Linked DNA regions of Homo sapiens: all the other regions are linked to region 4. Evidence: promoter capture Hi-C in 16 types of primary human blood cells and fetal thymus (Javierre and others, 2016). All regions are on one chromosome and are shown on one strand. The core of a region is centred on a gene start or on the middle of the fragment in contact, and the rest is flanking DNA. Distances in the headings are between cores, read along the strand shown. Region 1 overlaps FAM20B (FAM20B glycosaminoglycan xylosylkinase). Region 2 overlaps FAM20B (FAM20B glycosaminoglycan xylosylkinase). Region 3 overlaps RALGPS2 (Ral GEF with PH domain and SH3 binding motif 2). Region 4 holds the start of C1orf220 (chromosome 1 putative open reading frame 220). Region 5 overlaps RALGPS2 (Ral GEF with PH domain and SH3 binding motif 2). Region 6 has its middle 48 kb from the start of FAM20B. Region 7 has its middle 62 kb from the start of ANGPTL1.

Evidence for each region. Contacts are between HindIII fragments. The CHiCAGO score rates a contact against its expected background, and 5 or more counts as called.
Region 1: a contact is called between a fragment that was not itself captured here and the fragment with the promoter of C1orf220 in region 4, in 9 of 17 cell types (total B cells, M2 macrophages, fetal thymus and 6 more). The highest score is 8.6, in total B cells.
Region 2: a fragment that was not itself captured here is called in contact with the fragment with the promoter of C1orf220 in region 4 in 1 of 17 cell types (naive CD4 T cells); the score reaches 5.8 in naive CD4 T cells.
Region 3: a contact is called between a fragment that was not itself captured here and the fragment with the promoter of C1orf220 in region 4, in 3 of 17 cell types (total B cells, naive B cells and total CD4 T cells). The highest score is 16.6, in total B cells.
Region 5: a contact is called between a fragment that was not itself captured here and the fragment with the promoter of C1orf220 in region 4, in 2 of 17 cell types (naive B cells and total B cells). The highest score is 13.9, in naive B cells.
Region 6: a contact is called between a fragment that was not itself captured here and the fragment with the promoter of C1orf220 in region 4, in 4 of 17 cell types (endothelial precursors, naive B cells, fetal thymus and 1 more). The highest score is 5.9, in endothelial precursors.
Region 7: a contact is called between a fragment that was not itself captured here and the fragment with the promoter of C1orf220 in region 4, in 5 of 17 cell types (total B cells, naive B cells, megakaryocytes and 2 more). The highest score is 15.7, in total B cells.

The regions. Positions count from the first base shown.
Region 1 is chr1:179,029,608-179,032,307 of GRCh38, reverse strand. All of the region lies in intron 1 of FAM20B (FAM20B glycosaminoglycan xylosylkinase), which reads right to left. Among named protein-coding and RNA genes, the nearest start is that of FAM20B, 5.1 kb to the right of the region's middle. RefSeq lists a silencer at 2,640-2,700. The HindIII fragment of the contact is 3,274 bases long and covers 1-2,700 here.
Region 2 is chr1:179,047,564-179,050,263 of GRCh38, reverse strand. All of the region lies in intron 2 of FAM20B (FAM20B glycosaminoglycan xylosylkinase), which reads right to left. Among named protein-coding and RNA genes, the nearest start is that of FAM20B, 23 kb to the right of the region's middle. The HindIII fragment of the contact is 872 bases long and covers 952-1,823 here.
Region 3 is chr1:178,895,187-178,897,886 of GRCh38, reverse strand. RALGPS2 (Ral GEF with PH domain and SH3 binding motif 2) reads right to left here. Exons shown (of 20, transcript NM_152663.5): 17 at 131-223. Among named protein-coding and RNA genes, the nearest start is that of ANGPTL1, 25 kb to the right of the region's middle. The HindIII fragment of the contact is 2,744 bases long and covers 1-2,660 here.
Region 4 is chr1:178,541,511-178,544,210 of GRCh38, reverse strand. It overlaps C1orf220 (chromosome 1 putative open reading frame 220), which reads right to left and starts at 1,415. Exons shown (of 3, transcript NR_033186.1): 1 at 1,326-1,415. It overlaps LOC124904460 (a long non-coding RNA gene), which reads left to right and starts at 1,566. Exons shown (of 2, transcript XR_007066748.1): 1 at 1,566-2,177; 2 at 2,385-2,700. RefSeq lists silencers at 1,181-1,250, 1,281-1,610 and an enhancer at 1,661-1,720. The HindIII fragment of the contact is 17,585 bases long and covers 1-2,700 here.
Region 5 is chr1:178,914,074-178,916,773 of GRCh38, reverse strand. It overlaps RALGPS2 (Ral GEF with PH domain and SH3 binding motif 2), which reads right to left. Exons shown (of 20, transcript NM_152663.5): 20 at 1-444. The coding sequence ends at 415. Among named protein-coding and RNA genes, the nearest start is that of ANGPTL1, 44 kb to the right of the region's middle. The HindIII fragment of the contact is 5,766 bases long and covers 1-2,700 here.
Region 6 is chr1:178,976,232-178,978,931 of GRCh38, reverse strand. No RefSeq gene overlaps it. Among named protein-coding and RNA genes, the nearest start is that of FAM20B, 48 kb to the left of the region's middle. The HindIII fragment of the contact is 3,419 bases long and covers 1-2,700 here.
Region 7 is chr1:178,931,707-178,934,406 of GRCh38, reverse strand. No RefSeq gene overlaps it. Among named protein-coding and RNA genes, the nearest start is that of ANGPTL1, 62 kb to the right of the region's middle. The HindIII fragment of the contact is 283 bases long and covers 1,152-1,434 here.

The DNA of each region.
Region 1 (2,700 bases), core at 78-2,577, 490 kb before region 4:
GACCTCTACATGTGTTGTGCTAAGATTAGTGCCTGGATGACCCACAGTAATCACTTGCTAGTCATTATCACCATATCAAAAACCCAGATGACCTCCAGAGAGGAGAAAAATGACAAAGAAAACCCTCATTGGAATCAATATACCATAATGTTGTCTTCTCAGTTACATAGTGAGGGGCCAAATCCACACATTGCATTACTAAGAGTTTAGTAGTAATTAGTAGTCTTGTATTTCTGAGCCAAATTCTTGCCTAAATTTGAGAGGTAGATAAGACTAGGCAAATAGATATCTTCAGAGTGAGTGTCATGCAAAGCAGAAGACTGGGAGGCTGTCACTAATTTGGCCAACCTGTTTCCCTTCTCTACAAAGTTCAATTCTACCACACTCAATGTAACTGAAACAGATGGGAAGCATGAACTTATCCCACTTCACAAAAAAAGGCTAAAATAGAATGCCTTTCACAACTGTTTTCAGTTTGGAAAATTAGTTCTGTGTTTTAAAGATGACAGCTTTTCATGTGCTAAAGCCCTTAAGATAAGCCTTAAGAGTAACTTAAGAGTACAGGTGTAGAAAATCTAATTCTTACATAATCCAAATTGGTCCAAGTGTCAGGTTTTCCTTACTGTTTTCACTTCCATTTAAACATTTATTTACATCTGTAAACTCAGAATCACTTATATGAAATTCTCTAACAAGTTCCCTCTGAAGGAAGGCAACTAAAACCATTACCAGGCATTAATGAAGCATTAAGGTAGTCTTTCTTGCTGGATGTGAAAGTAAAAATGAAATAGGCAATAACTGAATAATTTCAATAAGTGAACTGAAAAAAAATCAATCTCTGCAACCTGTCCCATTTAAACCTTGATTTAGGGCAACCCTCTTCCTTGAAAAATGAAAAAGAAAAAAACTTTAGCTCATACTGCTAGCGAGTTCTGTTCTAAAAAACCAACACACGCAGTAATCTTGACACTACGTGGAAATGAGTAACAATTTGCATTTTCCTTTAAATAAGCCAGGTATAATGACACTTCCCAAGTTCCAGGTATTTCACAGCACAACTGTCAGTACAGAACCACCATTTAAGGCTAGATTATAGAAGGTAATTCCTGTATAGTGTTGAAATACGGCATTACAAATATTATAACATTTTCCTTCAGCTTTTCATATGCTTTCCATCTTTAGTGTTCAATTCACTACAGTTCTTGGAAAACCACATAAACTTTATACAACAATAGACCTCGCATTTTTAGCCTTATGTTCTATGGTACGTCAAGCTGACAGCCCACACAGGAGATCACTCTCAGAAGCAGGAGAACCTCAAACAGATCTGTGCTGAAATTATGGCTAGGTGGCTCCAGGCATGATCCCTCTGTTATACTATGAACTCACACACACACAAACACACACACACACATTTTTTTTTTTTTTTGGCACATCTGTCTCTTCTAATATATTGTGTTTTTTGAGGATGGGATAGATTTTACTCACGCTTTGTACTTCCAAGTAACTTAGCACTGTGCAGGGCCTGTAAGAGGCATCTGATAAGTGTTTGTGGAATAAAAGGAGAGAAGGGCAAAGGAGAAAGACCTTTAGGGTTATAAGAATTTCTTCTAAACTGGCAACTCTCTGGTTTAAAGACTGCCTCTTTCAGAGACAGGGGGAAATAAGTCCTACAATGAATTCAAGTATACAGTATATAAAAGATGCAGAAATAGCGAATATGTATACCAATTATATACACTCAATTTAAAGTTGCCACCTTCTGTATATCCTGCTTCCACCTTTCAAGGCCACTGCTATTGCCAACCTGGTTCCTAGTATCGGCTGGGATTAAGAGTAAAGACAATTTGGAAATGCTAAAAGGAAGAAAGGAGGTTGTCTAACACACTGCCCAAGGATGATACAAGACAGGGCTGAAATCAGATCTTCAAGTATTATTGGCAGTGCTTTCTGAAACAAGAACCCACACGAGTAAGTACTTCCATATTATTTTGTTTTTTTTTTTACAGAAAACTACAGGAACATAAATGCACCTATACAGAGCACACGTTCACTATCTACACCAACGATAAGAAACAAACAAACAAAAACGTCCCTGGGCAACAAAAATAAGTGGTTACAAAGTTCATACCCTAAAACTTGGAGAAGAGCAGGTAGAACATAACTAAGCCAATTTAGCTGTTTTACATTCAATGTCAGGAAGCTCCTACTCCACAGATAAGAAGCTGCAAATTTAAAAGAGGGCAGCAAGGATACTAACAGCAGCAAAAGAGCAGCTTTCCACCACTGAAAGAAGACAAAGACTGACTACTGAATCGACTCAAGTAGATTCAATAATTCAAAAAGCACAGTGGACAACAAACTACATTTTTCGATCATCTCATAGCCTCACTCAACTACTGCCAGTATGCTAGTAATAATAACCAAAGCATATATTGTAAAAATTTTTCCACAAAAGGTATAGCTAAAATAAAATTTTCACATATAATACCTTACTCCCCAACATTAGGTAAATGAGGCATTGCTATGTATATAAAGCAGAAAGTTAACATTTGAGAGCATGGAATGATAGACTTCACTGCCTCCCTCTGTACTTGGTTCTGTCCTCTTTACACATTCATAATTTCATATTCCTTGACCTGCCTTTATAACGTGCCCAAGTTAGCACCCTCTTCTCTAAAGGGGTTATCTTGCCAGAAA
Region 2 (2,700 bases), core at 138-2,637, 510 kb before region 4:
GAAGCACAGATGTATACGTGGATTACACCAGTAACAGGTGACAGCACAAGTGGTAGAATACACCCATTAGCAAGCCTGATTCTGCTATAGTCACCTTCTCTGTCAACCCTGCAAACAACTGTGGATTAGCATGAATTGCCGGTAGATGGAATGAAGATGAGGTAGAGAAGGAAACTAGAATTCTCTATCTACGTCACCAATCATTCTAAGAATAAAACATGGAAGCTGTCATTTTTGCCCCACTAAAGGGCTTTTGATGTAGTTTTAGTACAGATAAAAGGTAGTTTTCTGGAAGGCAAGGACTGTCTTTGTATTGCCAGCACAGTGTTAAGCACATAGTTGGTGCTTAATAAATGTCTACTAAAATGTTTATTAGACTGACCTGAAGAAATGAAGAAAAATGTGTAATTAAAACTTTTGCTGGCCAGGCACGGTGGCTCACACCTGTAATCCCAGCACTTTGGCAGGCCAAGATGGGTGGATCACCTGAGGTCGGTAGTTCGAGAACAGCCTGGCCAACATGGCGAAACCCCATCTCTACTAAAAAACACCAAAATTACCTGGGTGTGGTGGTGAATGCCTGTAATCCCAGCTGCTCAGGAGGCTGAGTCAGGAGAATCGCTTGAACCTGGGAGGCGGAGGTTGCAGTGAGCCGAGACTGTGCCACTGCACTCCAGCCTGGGCAACAGAGTGAGGCTCTGTCTCAAAAAACAAAAAACTTTTGCTTACCAGAATGGCTGTGGCAAAGCTTATAAGAGAAATTTAAATTTGGGGGAAAATAGTCTGATATAACTCAATCTTTGTTAATGGGAAGGCAACAGCGCTTTTGAAAAAAGTTGTTTGAATAACCATTCTTGTTCTTTTTTTTTAAGTTTATGATGACGTACTACAAGGAGTCCTGGACTGGCAGTGGGAGGTTGGTGTGGCTGTCATTACTTGACTGGGTAAGCTTGAGCAAAACCTTTCTCTTCTCTGGGTCTCAGATTCCTTACTTACAATATTAGGGGCTGGACTAGGAGGTAATTTCTAAGGTCTCTTTCATCTCAGACTGCATTCTGATGATTTTCTATCACATGTATGACATAAGCAAAGGATAATGAAGACTGGCATATTTCTTTCTACTAACCATTTTAAAAGATAGAATTTAAATCTGTTAATTAGGAAGAAAAAAGTACTTAATTCACCTATGTCCTCTCTATTGGTCTCCTGCATTTCCTGAATCTAAAGGAGACCTTTTAGGCTTTACAATGGACCTATGAAATAGAAATAAATTGAGAGTGATGTGGAGAAGAGAGGTTCCACTAAGGATAGTTGGCTCTCTCATGCTAAAACAGCAATAGGGAAGTGGAAAACAGTACTATAAAAGGCAGTGAACTTCAACTTAAATGACCTTAGAATATAAAGTGAAATCATATCCACAAAATATATCTTCAAGGCAAAATGATGAAGCATTTGTTAGAAGACAGCCATGTATCACCTTCTGGTTGGGCACCAGTTTCTTCTTAGCATGGTCAATATACCCAAATGTAATTTTTTGTTTGTTTGTTCCTAGTGCAAAGGATTACTTAGGAATAATTTTTTAAAAGGTTTATATTAGCTACCTCTAAATTAAAAGTCAAATTTGAAATACCCCTGCAGCAAAAAGCTGACACTATTCAGGTACTGTTCTACTACAGATGTAGGCTATCCTTGAATACTTTATTTTTAGTACTTCAGGGCAGCCACAGGAAGGTATGTGGTGAAGTGCAGTATGGTCCTTTCAGTGAAACATTAGAGAGCTTTCCAATCCATCTAAAGGCTGCGCAGAGTAAAATGCAAAAGCTTAGAGGAATACAGGAACTTTGGGAGTGGGCAGGAGAGGAAAAGATGGAGGGAAGAGAAAAGGAATAAGAATCAAAAGAACTACACTGAAGTCAGGCCTGAATCCTCAGCTCATGTTTTGGTTATGTGAAATATGGAAAATCAGAATTCTGGATCTCATTTTTCTCACCTGTAAAATGGACAGTTGGACTAGCTGATCTCCAAGGTCCCTTTTAGTACTTCCTGAGATTACTCATTCACTTCTACGCGCTTCTAGGCCCCTGCCTTCTTGTTCTTTTTCCAACATAACTGCTGTTTTTGCCTGTGAAAATCAATTACTTCTAGAATGGAAATAGCTACATTAAAAAAAAAATCACCTTTACTTATAATGTAAGGCAAAATGTGTAAATAAAAGTGTCACTCTATTCCCATATATATCATCTACCTATACTGCACACACCTTGTATCTCTGAGAGCAGGACATGGATAATCAGGCTCCAGAAATGTTAAAACCACAAGTGGCTTTCAGAGAAAGGACTTAGATTCTTCTCTTACCAGAGAGTGATCCATCTTAAGTCACTGACAGAGCAGCAAAATTCATACAGTAACTGCCAATAAATCATTCCTATCCTTCTGCTGAAGGACATCAGAGTATGACCAAGGACATTAATTTGCACTTACACCAGGACTAAATAAATAGCCTCTGAAGCCCTGGGGGTCAGAACAGCATTTTGCTGGGTGTTTAGGGACTGGAGTCAATTTCTGCAAGCACTTAAACTTACAACCACTTTCCCCAGCCTGTGATATTTCCTGATATAAAGCAGCACAGGTCAGTATGTGCAGTGACTAAGAGAGTTAGCACCTATGGCAGGGGCCAAAAAAAACCTTGCTGAGTTGGAG
Region 3 (2,700 bases), core at 39-2,538, 350 kb before region 4:
ACTTTTGGACTAGAAGATAGGAAAAAACAAGGCAAACCCAAAAAACCTTTGTATCCCATTAGGACTGCTTTCTTTATAACCATGAACAGTCTGGGAAACCACGCTAAAAATGTAGAGAACAAATACTTACATGTTTTCTTTCGGTAGCCTTTAGAGATTTGGCAGCATAGTAAAAAAGCTGTGTCCCACACAAAGCTGCCCAATATTTTGTCCAAGATGCTACCTGGATAGGACAAACACAGGAATATACTATTACAATGCTCCTGGCTTCTTAGTTTCTTTACATTCTAAGTGCCAATGATCAAGTCCACTTCACTTCAACCAAAGTCCTAACCTCAGAGTTGAGCTGTATCACTTCTGAAATCTTAATCTCAAATACTCCTGTCACTGCCATGTAACTACCTGTTTGTAGACCCACATACTCAGTCTTTCCTCCAGCTACAAAAGAATAGTTAACCCCGATTCTATCTAAAGGCAAACTCAACTCTCTTTTTATGCCCTAGATTCCAACTCTCTCTCACTTTTTAAAGAAGTTTGCTTTACAGTCCCACCAACAGTGTAAAAGTGTTCCTATTTCTCCACATCCTCTCCAGCACCTGTTGTTTCCTGACTTTTTAATGACTGCCATTCTAACTGGTGTGAGATGGTATCTCATTGTGGTTTTGATTTGCATTTCTCTGATGGCCAGTGATGATGAGCATTTTTTCATGTGTTTTTTGGCTGCATAAATGTCTTCTTTTGAGAAGTGTCTGTTCATGTCCTTCGCCCACTTTTTGATGGGGTTGTTTGTTTTTTTCTTGTAAATTTGTTGGTGGGACTGTAAACTAATTCAACCATTGTGGAAGTCAGTGTGGCGATTCCTCAGGGATCTAGAACTGGAAATACCATTTGACCCAGCCATCCCATTACTGGGTATATACACAAAGGACTATAAATCATGCTGCTATAAAGACACATGCACACGTATGTTTATTGCGGCATTATTCACAATAGCAAAGACTTGGAACCAATCCAAATGTCCAACAATGATAGACTGGATTAAGAAAATGTGGCACATATACACCATGGAATACTATGCAGCCATAAAAAATGATGAGTTCATGTCCTTTGTAGGGACATGGATGAAATTGGAAATCATCATTCTCAGTAAACTATCGCAAGAACAAAAAACCAAACACCGCATATTCTCACTCATAGGTGGGAATTGAACAATGAGATCACATGGACACAGGAAGGGGAATATCACACTCTGGGGACTGTTGTGGGGTCGGGGGAGGGATAGCATCGGGAGATATACCTAATGCTAGATGACGAGTTAGTGGGTGCAGCGCACCAGCATGGCACATGTATACATATGTAACTAACCTGCACAATGTGCACATGTACCCTAAAACTTAAAGTATAATAAAAAAAAAAAAAGAAAAAAAAAATAAAGAAGTTTGCTTTTGCAATTAACTCCATTGCTTCTCAATCTCTCTCCCTCTACCACCATTATACAAATGAACCTTAATAGTACTCCCACCTTTAAAATCCCTCCTTTGACCCATCTCCTCACTCCCCAGACACCAACCAATTTCTCTTCTCCTTTTCACAGCATAACTTCTTGCAAGGGTGTCTCTAAATCTTGCCTCTACTTCTTCTGTTTTGCCCATTTTCTACTTAACTCATTTCATTTGGCTTTTGGGCCATCAAGGTCACTGATGATTGTAATTTTAGCAAAGCCTCTATCCTTATCATAGCCAGCCTCTTAACAGCATCTGACCCAGCTGGCCACTCTTTGCTTTTTGAAGTACTGTAACTGCTAGGCTTCTGGGATAACAGTTCCTTAGTTTTCCTTTATACTCTTCTTTGTGGGAGACCTTTAATGCTACAGAGCCCCATCTCCAACCTTGTTTTCTTCTCTAGCTATACTTTCTTCTTAGATAATCTATCATCCAGTTCCATATTTCAAATACTATCTATCTGTATGCTAATGACTCCCAAATCTATCTCCCTGCCACCTCTCTGCTGACCTCATGATCCATACTTTTTCAACAGCCACAATGACACCTCCACTTGAATGTTTAATAAGCATATCAAACTGAACTTGGCCAAGACTGACCTGCCCCCCATTTCAATAAATGTCCCCAACATACACCCATCTCAGTCCCCAAACCTAGAAGTTATCTTTGTTTTCACTCTTTCTCTCATACATCATGTTTAATTTATCATCAAACAACTCCAGCTTTTGCCTCTTACTTGATCTCCTCCACCTTCCCCAATTTCAATGCGTAAACTACACAAGCCTTCTTGTCTCCTGAACTCTAGATATTCACACAGCTAACTCACCTTCCTCATTCAGATCTCAGCTCAAATGTTTTGCCATGGTGGCATCCCTCCTTGCCCCATCATTCTGTATCCTATGACATTATTTTAAAGCCTTATTCTCTATTTCTCCTCACTGAAATGTAATCCAGGAGGAAGACACTTTGCCTCACCTTGTTCACTGCTCTATTTCTAGCATCCAGCACACAAAAGGTATGGTAATGCTTCAACTGACATGCAATTCTGAGTTCACTAGCCTGCCTAAGAGATTCTTGATTTGTATGTGCCTTTGGCTTACTGTGATATAAACAACAAAATAAGATTACTTATATGAAGCCCCCATATCTTCAAAAGCTTTAAGTGTGAATATATATCAAAGGTTTTATATTTCAAATT
Region 4 (2,700 bases), core at 166-2,665:
GGGCAGATCAGGAGCTTGAGACCAGCCTGCCCAACGTGAGAAACCCTGTCTCTACTAAGAATAAAAAATTTAGCCAGGCATGGTGGTGGCACGCCTGTTAATCCCCGCTACTTGGGAGATTGAGGCAGGAGAATCGCTTGAACCTGGGAAGCAGAGGTTGCAGTGAGTCGAGATGGCGCCACTGCACTCCAGCCTGGGCCACAGAGCGAGACTCCGTCTCAAACAAACAAACGACAACAACAAAATGCAAACTCTGGCCAGGCGCGGTGGCTCATGCCTGTAATCCCAGCACGTTGGGAGGCCAAGGTGGGCGTATCACTTGAGGTCAGGAGTTCAAGACCAGCCTGGCGAACATGGTGAAACCCCATCTCTACTAAAAATACAAAAATTAGCCAGGTGTGGTGTCATGCACCTGTAGTCCCAGCTACTCAGAAGGCTGAGGCAGGATAATCGCTTGAACCTGGAAGACAGGTTGCGGTGAGCACAGATCGCGCCACTGCACCCCAACCTGAGCGACAGAACAAGACTTCATAAAAAAAAAAAAAACCCCACGCAGATTGCAGATTCCTGGGCCCCATCTTCGCCTTTCTGAATTGCAGCCTTTCACCCTTTAAGAATGAGAGGGTGAAATCTGCACGTCATACAAATAGCCCAGGGGCTATTAATCTGATGTTGCTCCCCAGCTCCCTCCAACACCGTCAGAGGGTGCACGGATTAGGCCTCTGCTGCGTGCAGAGAAGCATCCTAGGTGCTGCGTGGCTGTGCCAAAGCAGCAGAAACCGGTGGTGTGCCTTAAGATGCATGCTCCAAAGCTGTCCACAAGGCCTCTGGTACAGGCTTCCAGGTCTACGTCTCGGCTTCCCCGACAGTGTCCATGCGACACTGTCACCAGTTTCTCCTCTCACAAGCAGAAAATCAAATTCGGATTGGGCAAATGATTCCCTGCCCGGGTGTGGAATAAGGGTCAAGTCCTAAGTATGGAGAGAGAGCGCCGGCTCCCGCCAGGATATGCGAAGCTCTGGAGGGGAGGCCAAGCCACCAGGCACCCGGCGGGAGAAGAGGAGGCTGGAGAGCGCCGCCCAGTGCCTGCAGGCCGGGCGCTCCACGCCTCCCCTCCCTCCTGCACACCCCATTCCCCTCCGGTTGCCCCGCCTGGGAAGCCCCCTCCCCACACCTCCCGGCCCAGCATCTGCACGAGAGCCGCGAGCCCTGGCCCAGAGCTCTGGGTGGGCCTCTCACCCCAGACGGCGGCCGCAGCCCGTCCCTGATCACCGGCCGCCTGAGCCCTCCGTTCGCTCGGCGCGAGCGCCGCCACCCGTCCTTACCCCCATCCAGTCCGAGGCCAGCCCCGTAGGCTCCGAGCCTGCTCCGTGAAAAGCCTTTTCCCCAGGAGGAGAGTTACTGTAAAGCAAGAGGAAGCCGAGAAGAGGCGGTGGCTGCAGCGCGCGGGGCCCGGCGGGGGCGCGGGGGCGTCGGGGTACTGACTGGGCAGCGCGGTTTCCCCTCATCCCGGGACACGGTGCGGCGCTAGCGCCACCCAGCGGGCGCGGTGGGAATTGCGCTCCCTTCCTGCGCTGGGGCTCTGGACACACAGGCGACCAAGAATGACGCCTGCAGCCGGATAAACGCTCGGGGCAAGGCCGCTATCATCCCTCTGCCGGGAGTGAGTCAAGTCTCAGCAAAAGAAGAAGCCACTTTGGCCAAAATTCCAAGAGTGCTGATGAAGACGGTGACATCTGACATTTCAATGGCACTTTCCATTTCCCCCGGGGTGCGCATTCCGGGCCAGTGGAGCGCTGCGTCGCCTGTGCAGGACCTGGAGGTCTGCAGGACTGTGACCAGTCGGAGTCTCGGAGTCGTGGGTTAAACATTAGTCGGGAGCACTCGTTCATTCCCTGAGCTCCCCTTGCCCTTCACCCTTCGGTCCCGGAAGCCGGAAGGGAGACTGCCCCGCCCCTTGCCTGCCGCCCAGTGGCTCTCCCGGGGCCCTCTTGGCCCCTCTCTCCCAGCCCTCCATACAGTGAAGGGTTGTTTCCGCTGGTGACTTCCACCTGTGGGAGCAGAGAAAGGAAGCGGGGCAGAGGAGAAGGGGAAGGTGTCAGGCGATTCCCCTCCTTGCGCTGCAAGCCGGGTGGGAATAGAACACCTGCAGCCCTCCCCGGCGCCCTGCGAATGAGGTGGGAGTGGGAACGCCATCAGGGCAGAGCCCCTCCAGCTGGCTGGGGTCTGCACCTCCTCGCCAGCCCGGCCACCTCAAAACGGTGCTTGCCTCCCTGCGGGGGTGTAGAAGCCTCTTGGAGCAGCACTTGTAGAAAATCAAGTCCCTGGAAAGAAGCAAAATTAATCCGTTTGTTTCTCTATTTATTTTTGCTTCCCCACACCAGGTATTCACTTCATCCAAGGCTGCCCAATGTCACCTTCCACCCAGAGGAATCTCCCCTCTCCACCCCAGGCCAACAGCCTCTGCCTTCAGCTGTGGCCTCCACTCTGGCATTACTCTGGGCAGAGGGCTCAGGAGGGCTCAAGGAGGACCAGTGACATTCAGAGTGGCCAGAGTAAAGGGAGGGAGGGGGAGTGGTGGGAGAGGCGTGCAGAAGGCACAGGTGAGGTGGCGGAGGGGGGCAGGTGGTGGGGGGAGCGGGCTGGGGTGGGATGGGCCTGTCAGCATAGCAAGGGCTGTGATGGGCTTGAGTCTGACAG
Region 5 (2,700 bases), core at 198-2,697, 370 kb before region 4:
TTTTTAAAGCATATCTAAAAAAGGCAATTCCCCCCTCTAAAATTATTACAAAGTTAAAAGAAATGCAAATTAGCTACGATCTATTCCAAGCACAGCACCGCCAGAAGATTCACACACACTATTTGGTGTTTCATGTTGGTTTTCCTTTCATTCTTTTAAGGCAGTGGTTTCCACAGGTCAGTTCTGAGATAAGAAGCATGGTTCATGGCAGTTTGTTTTGCAACTCCAATTTGTTCTCTGGGAATATCTCAAATCATTCCCTGAAATTAGTGCTTTTTTGGTTGAGAACTCCAACGACTGAGACAGAGCCTCTGGGCTCTTCCTGGCACAGGATGGTTTATAGCTGGCGCTCTTTTATCAGGTCCTCATGCTCACGTAGAAGCAACAGTTCACCTCTCTTTTTTTCTCAGGCTTCTACTCAAAAGTCATCAAGTTTGTAGGAACCTAAAAAATATAAGCATTAAAAACTGAGTTTAAAAGTTGTTTTTCAAAGGAGTATTTCTTATCTTTCCTTGTTATTTAGGCAAGCCCAATCTTTCTACTTAAGTATCTTTTAAAAGGAACTTGATATAAGGAGCTTCAATAGTTTATGAATAATTAACATGCTAGAACATTTTTGAGAGAAAATCACCAAAATGAGTTAATACTCTTTCTAGTAAAATGACATCTATACAGGAGAAGGGGTAGAGACAATATCTTTCTTGTCTAACACAGGGGGCTCAGTAGACGTTTACTGAATGAATAAATGAGAGCAAGAGTAAGTATGACTCTGGTAGGGTGAGATTCCAGATACACTTGTTTGCCATTATTTATTTTCTCATTATATATTACAAAAATTCCTAGGTGCATATTTTTAAAATCAGCAAAAATAATTTTATAACAAACATTACTAAGAATTTATTTGTAAAATCATGATTAAAATAAGTACAGAAAAACAAAATTCCTTATTAGAGTTTCACTATGTTAAAACAAATCCTCAAAACCAGTTTTCCAAAATACTGGGAGAGGTATTCATATGTCAGTGGTCTTTTCTGTCCTTAAGACAGCTCTCACAGTTTAGCAACCTCTCTCTGAAACCTATTATATGCAAAAACATAAATACCTTACAAGTGTCAGCTTCTGAATAAAAAAATTATGTTGGCCAATGTACTCATAACTGAATTACAAATCAAATACAACACAAATGCTCAAGTGCTTAAAGTATAAATTTTCAGGTCTGATTATAAGAAACTCATATTTGGCCGGGTGCGGTGGCTCACGCCTATAATCCCAGCACTTTGGGAGGCTGAGGCAGGCAGATCACCTGAGGTCAGGAGTTTAAGACCAGCCTGGCCAACATTGTGAAACTCCATCTCTACTGAAAATACAAAAATTAGCTGGGCCTGTGGTGGGTGCCTGTAATCCCAGCTACTCAGGAGGCTGAGGCAGGAGAATGGCTTGAACCCGGGAGGCAGAGGTTGCAGTGAGCCAAGATCGCACCATTGCACTGTCCAGGCTGGGCAACAAGAGTGAAACCCTGTCTCAAAGAAAAAAAAAGAAACTTGTATTTAAGTAAAGTAAAAGTTTCATTTCTTTTTAAGTTGCCTGAATGTGGTTTAAGATATTTTGCATTTGAGTCAGAGTTTTCTACTAAAACTTTCACAGGTTCTACTTACAAATTTGCCACTATTCTAATTCTTGCAAGTATAGAAACAAATATTTATACACGTCTGGTTGACTTGTTGCACAGAAATACTCACTAATACAGTAAAAGAAATTGAACCTTTAAGCTGGTATATGTATATATTGTCTAGATTCATCTTGGAATCTGAGATTGAAAAAAAAAGAGTCTTAATACCCTAAATTACATTTAAAGAAAATGTATAGCAATGAGGTGAATCCTGAAAGGCTTAGTCTAGACAAAGCCTGATCTGTTTCTTTCATTCTGCCCCAGACACTAACCTGACAAGGCAAAAAATAATTTTCGCTCTATGACATTTCATGTCCTTTATGGAGGTTGCTAAAAATGGTACTAAATACTGCTATTAGTGTTGCATATATATTTGAAACAATAAAAACTATGAGAGAACAAAGCCCACTCCAACAATATTTTAAAAAAATGCCCTCGGGATTGGGACAAGATGGCCAACTAGGCAAAGCCAGGAAGAGCTTCTCCCACCAAGAGAGATCTGAGTATCTAGTAGACCAGCATACTCCAAGCCTATCTTCTGAGAGGATGCACTGAGAGAAAATCACCGATTTTCTGAGAGTGGGTGGAGAGATGATGCAGAACCAGGGTTGAAGAGCGAAGAAGCTAGGAACCCTGCACAGGGCTGTGGAGTGCTGGGACTCATTCCTGGTCCTGAACAGCTCCTAAGGAAGGGGTGAGTAAAGTAACTGTGGAATGGCCCACTCTCACCACAAACCGCTGGGATCCTAGTGGCAGGAGATCCCATAGTCCTCCTGGATATTTGAGTTGCCAGGGGGAACTGCCTGGAGAGCTGGCAGAGACAGAACTTAGGTCTACATGGAGCCCAGGGGGTATGGTGTGGGGAAAGCTGCAAAGGAACACGGCCATAGGCGCCCACCCACCAAGGCTCTTCATACTCCTCTAGGTGGCTCTGACCTTTGCTAACTGCCATATTTGGAGAGAGCAGGGCTGTGTTTCCCATGGGACTGGGGTGAGTCTGAGCTGCATGTCCCACTGTCTACTGGCCCCTT
Region 6 (2,700 bases), core at 20-2,519, 430 kb before region 4:
TTATCTTTAGCTATAATAAATTATTAAGATGACATCTTAATTTTGATTGCAAAAAAAGAGACAGAGGAAAAAGATACTTACCTCCATCCCCCTCTGCATTTTGATTATTTGTTGTCAATTTAAATCTTTTTATATTGTTTCTCTCTTAACAAATTGTAGTTATTAATTTTGATAGGTGTGTCTTTTAGTGTTCATACTAAAGACACAAGTAGCTTACGTACTACAATTACTATATTATTCTGAATTTGTCTATGTACACACTTATTTTTTTTTAGAAAGAGTCTTGCTCTGTCACCCAGGCTGGAGTGCAGTGGCACGATCTCGGCTCACTGCAACCTCTGCCTCCTGGGTTCGAGTGATTCTTGCGCCTCAGCCTCCCTAGAAGCTGGGATTACAGGTGCCCGCCACCATACCTGGCTAATTTTTGTAATTCTAGTAGAGATGGGGTTTCACTATGTTGGCCAGGCTGGCCTTAAACTCCTGACCTCAAGTGATCCACCCACCTCAGCCTCCCAAAGTGCTGGGATTACAGGCTTGAGGCACTGAGCCTGGCTATGTACATAGTTTTACCAGTGAGTTTTATATCTTCAAATGCTTTCTTTTTGCACATTAGCATCCTTTTATTTCAGATGGAAGAACTCTTTTTTTCACATATCTTGTAAGACAGGTCTGGTGGTGATAAATTCCTTCAGCTTTTGTTTGCCTGACAAAGTCTTTATCTCTCCTTTGTGTTTGAAAGATAGCTTTACTGGATACAGTATTCTCAGTTTGTAATTTTTGTTTTCTTCATCACTTTGAATATGGCATCCCACTCTTTCCTGGCCTCTAAGATTTCCACTGGGAAGTCCACTGTCAGACAGATGTATTGGAGCTTTTTTTTTTTTTTTTGACAGAGTCTCACTCTGTTGCCCAGGCTGGAGTGCAATGGTGTGATCTCTGCTCACTGCAACCTCCAACTCCCAGGTTCAAGCAATTCTCCCTTCCTCAGCCTCCTGAGTAGCTAGGATTACAGGCACCAGCCACCATGCCTAGCTAATTTTTGTATTGTTTAGTAGGGATGCAGTTTTGCCATGATGGCCAGGCTAGTCTTGAACTCCTGACCTCAGGTGATCTGCCGACCTCAGCCTCCCAAAGTGTTGGGATTACAGGTGTGAGCCACTGTACCTGGCCTGGAGCTTCTTTATATGTTGTTTGTTTCTTTTTTCTTGCCATTTTAGGATCCTCTTTTTCTTGTTTAACTTTGAGAGTCTGATTTTTTATATGGCTTGAGTCTTATTTGGGTTCAATCTGCTTGGTGCTCTTTGACCATCTCGTAACTGGATATTCATAACTTTCTTTAGGTTTGGAAAGTTTTCTGATATTATTTTTTTTCTTCTCCCCACTCCATGATATTATTTCTTTGAATAAACTTTCTACCCCTTTTTCTGTCTCTACTCCCTCTTTAAGGCCAACGACTCTTACATTTGCTCTTTTGAAGCTATTTTTTAATTCTCGTGTTTGTCTTTCCTTTTTCTCCTCTGTGCATTTTCAAATAGCCTGATTCTTTCTTCTGTTTGATCAATTCTTCTGTTGAAGATGTCAAATGCATTTTTTACTTGATCTATCGTATTATATTTTTCAGGTCCAGGATTTCTATTTATTTTCAAATTTTCAGTCTTTTTGTTAAATTTCTCTGATAAATTTCTGAATTTTGTGTGTGTGTGTGTGTGTGTGTGTGTGTGTGTGTGTGTGTGTGTGTGTGTGTTTAAGTTGACTGAACTTCCTCAAAACAGCTATTTTGAATTCCTTGGCTGAGAGGTCACACATCTCCATCTCTCCAGGGTCATTACTGGTGCCTTATTTAGTCTATTTAGTGAGACCATATTTTCTGAATGTTTCTGATGCTTGCATACATTCATCAATATCTGGGCATTGATGAAGTAGATACTTATTCCAGTCTTCACTGTCTGGCCTTGTTTGTATCTGTTCTTCAGGGAGCCTTCGAATAATTCAAAAGGGACCACCTGTTGAGTTCACTAAACCTGTGGTCAGTGCAGCCATTTTGCAGTAGAGAGGGCCCTAAGCCAAGTTTCACTATGAGTCTTGCAGACTCCAAGATCGCCAACCCTGATGTAGTTCTGGAAAATCAGAGATAGTTCCCTGGTGGGGGAGGGCTGACATGGACATATCCATGGCCTCTGCAGCTGGCACTATGCTAGGTCATACCAAAGCCTATAGTCTCCCTGACCGGTGCAGTACCAGGGCTAGCTCAATGCCTGCAGCTGCTACTGCCTTAATACTGCTGATATTTATTCAAAGGCCAAGGTCACTTTGGTCAGCTGGTGGTGAAGCAGGCTGGGACTTGGGTTTTTCCTGCCATGGTGATGGATTCCCTTCTGTCCCAGGACAAGTCTAGAAGTATGTCCAGGTGGGGGTTCAGCCCTGTGTTTTGTTTTACTGTGGCAAAACTGACACTAGATTCACAGGCAAAGTCTCCTGTACTCTTCTTTCTTCCCAAGTAGAGGGAGTCTCTCTGAACTGCACTGCCTGGAGCTGAGGGAGGGGTGACATGGGTACTTTTGTGGCAGACACCACTGATGTCATACTGTGTCTGGAATTTATCCCTTCTTGTGGGTTCTTGGTCTCGCTGACTTCAAGAATGAAGCCGTGGACCCTCGCAGTGAGTGTTACAGTTCTTAAAGATGGTGTGTCTGGAGTTTT
Region 7 (2,700 bases), core at 44-2,543, 390 kb before region 4:
CTTCTGGCTCTTTTGTTAGGAAGTTGCTTATGTCCAACTTACCTGACAAGGAGCCCCAGAGAGAGACCACAGTTCAAACTTGCTTGATTTCACCTTCAGCTGTCTGCTAGTGTCTAACATTTCATAGAGAGAGACGAGAATAGCCACTCTCAATAATGGGTCCCAGCTGACCAAGGGTGCAGAATATTTATGCTGGCGGTTCCCATCTGCTGAGCGGTTACAAGCGCCAGGCCCTGTGCTTTGCATCTTCCACGCATGACCTTATTCAACCTCACAATAAACTTAGGAAGGAGGAGCTTTCTCATGCTGTTTTTGCAGATGAGGAAATACACTTGGGAGGGTAAGTGTGGTGGACAGGAAGAGTTGAGTGATGTGGGCAATTGAACATGGAGGGATAGGGGGCCAGAGTCCCACTCTTCTCCAAGAAGGGTGCCGGGTCATCAGGGAGGGCCAATGCATCCACTGGCAGATCAGTTAATCAGCATTACTAGTCCCAGAGCCTAGCAGAGGGCAGGGCTCCTGGGCACAGGAGACAGAGGAGCCTTCATCCTTCAAAATGCCTCTCAATTGTTTCCTACCTGTGCTCCCACTTTGGGACAGACCCTTGCTCTCTCTCTCCTGGAGAACAGCTGTTTCCTGCCTGGTCTCCCAGCTTCCATTCTCCAATTCCTCCTTCTGGCACTTAAAATCCTGAGCAATTTGGCTCCAACCTACTTTTCCAACTTTATGTGTTGCCACTTCTCAGTGTGAGCTCTTCCCAGCCTCAACTGTATATTTCCAGCTCTTGCTTGCAATTCTTCTCCCCTGGTCCTAAATCCTACCCACCCATGGACTCTCCTCTTCCACGTGGCCTTCCCTGGCCTCTCAGGGCCACAGTGTTTCTCCTGAATACGAAGAACTTTCTTAGTCTAGCATGGGCATCCAGCACATTTATGCAATTCAGGATTGCTTGTGTTAACCACTCTGTTTTGTGTCTGTAGTGAGGCTGTAAAACTCCAGGGACCACATGCAGCACAGTGCAAGGCCTACTGGGAGGCTCTGTCCCGGGAACAGACATTGGAAAAAAAAAAAGGTTATATTTACATGTTGACAGCACATGGATTTCTTCAGCTGAAAACTGTCATTAGCAAGGAAAATTAAAGTAGGAAGCTTGTTCTTTCTTTGAGTTTCATAATAAATCACAAAGTCATTTGCGGAGCTTTTGTGCTGCAGGTTCTGGGCACCAAAACTGCAAGTTACAGCTCTGAAAGCCAGTGTCCACCAGGGCCGAGAATCAGACCAGAGTTTGAATCCTGGCTCCACCTCCTTACTGGGTGACTGTAGGCAAGTTCTTCAACCTCTCCAAATTTTCTGGTTGTAATTCAAGAAGAAGTATCTCTACTATACAGGGTTGTTAAGAAAGAATAAATTAGATAACAATGTATAAAATAAGCTTAGAACCACAACATCAGAACCAATGACTATATGATGAATCAAACTGACTTACTTTCACAAAATGCGTTGGGAACTTAGAATGGTATCGGTAGGAAAGTAGTGAGGACCTGAGGTGGGGTGAACAGGAAAACAGCTGCTCAGTTGCCTTTGCTTAGGATGAGTTTGTGCTCCGGGCGCAGGGATTAGGTGATGAGGAGGTAGTTGCCACTGGACAGGGAAATGTGTTGCTTCTTCCCAGCGACCTCAGGGGACACTCTCCTCACTGACTGTGAGATCCCCTTGGTCAGGGACTGCCTCCCCTTCCCCAGAACCTAGCACAGAGCAGGAGTTCAGCACATACTGGTTTTCATTGAACATTCCCAAGTACTTACTTTCCAAGAATAAAAGAAGCAGTTCTTTCTAGACTTACTTGCTAAGCAAAAAATGGATAATTAAGATGTTGCAAGAAAGTCGCTGGCAAAAGTCCAAGGAGCTGCTTTTCTTAAACCCTGCACGGAGGTGCAGGGGGTGACATATTTTGACAGCTATGACATAGCTCAGGGCAGATGGAAGAACAACAAGTACAAAAGAGAACTTGATTTTGGCTTTGGCCAAAGAGAACTTTTGACTTTGTTTGGCAACTGTTTACTGGATACCATAGTAGCATGCCTTGCCCTAGTGTGGTGTGAGAGCTGCCCCTCAGCCAGTGATGGAGAATGAAAATACTTGAGAGTAAAAGCCTAATTATTTAAAAATACATCAAAACAAAAGCAAAGAGGGAAACAATCTGGCTTCAACGTTTATGAGAGTCCAGAGTCTCTGAAGAAGCTGGTCCTGTTAAGGAATGGAAGACAGGGCCCCAAGGGAGCTGAGGGCGTGGCTGCTTCCCCAGGGCCTGCTGTGGGGGCCAAACTGACCCTGAGAGGCAGTGTGTCAGCTTCACAGCTGACTTGAGAACCAGCGGGGCCCTGGGTCTGGTTTACCACAATAAAGGAACAAAATGTTCCCTTTCTAGCAGAGCCGCTGCTGGTGGGGTTCGGGACAGAGGCGGGTCAGGGCCCTCCGAGATGTAAGGACACTGCTTTGCTTTGCCAGTGAACTCTGGTTTGGTTTGGGGGTATTTCATCTTTAAGGACTGTGAAGGTCCCATTTGTTCCCTGCTTTAATAAAAAATAACACAAGAAATAGGTGTTTCTCTCCCTTATTTTGAGACCACTAATCAATACCATCTGATCATAGTTTTAAAAATTAATAAATTGGGCTACACAAGCAGAAATCTATTTTTTA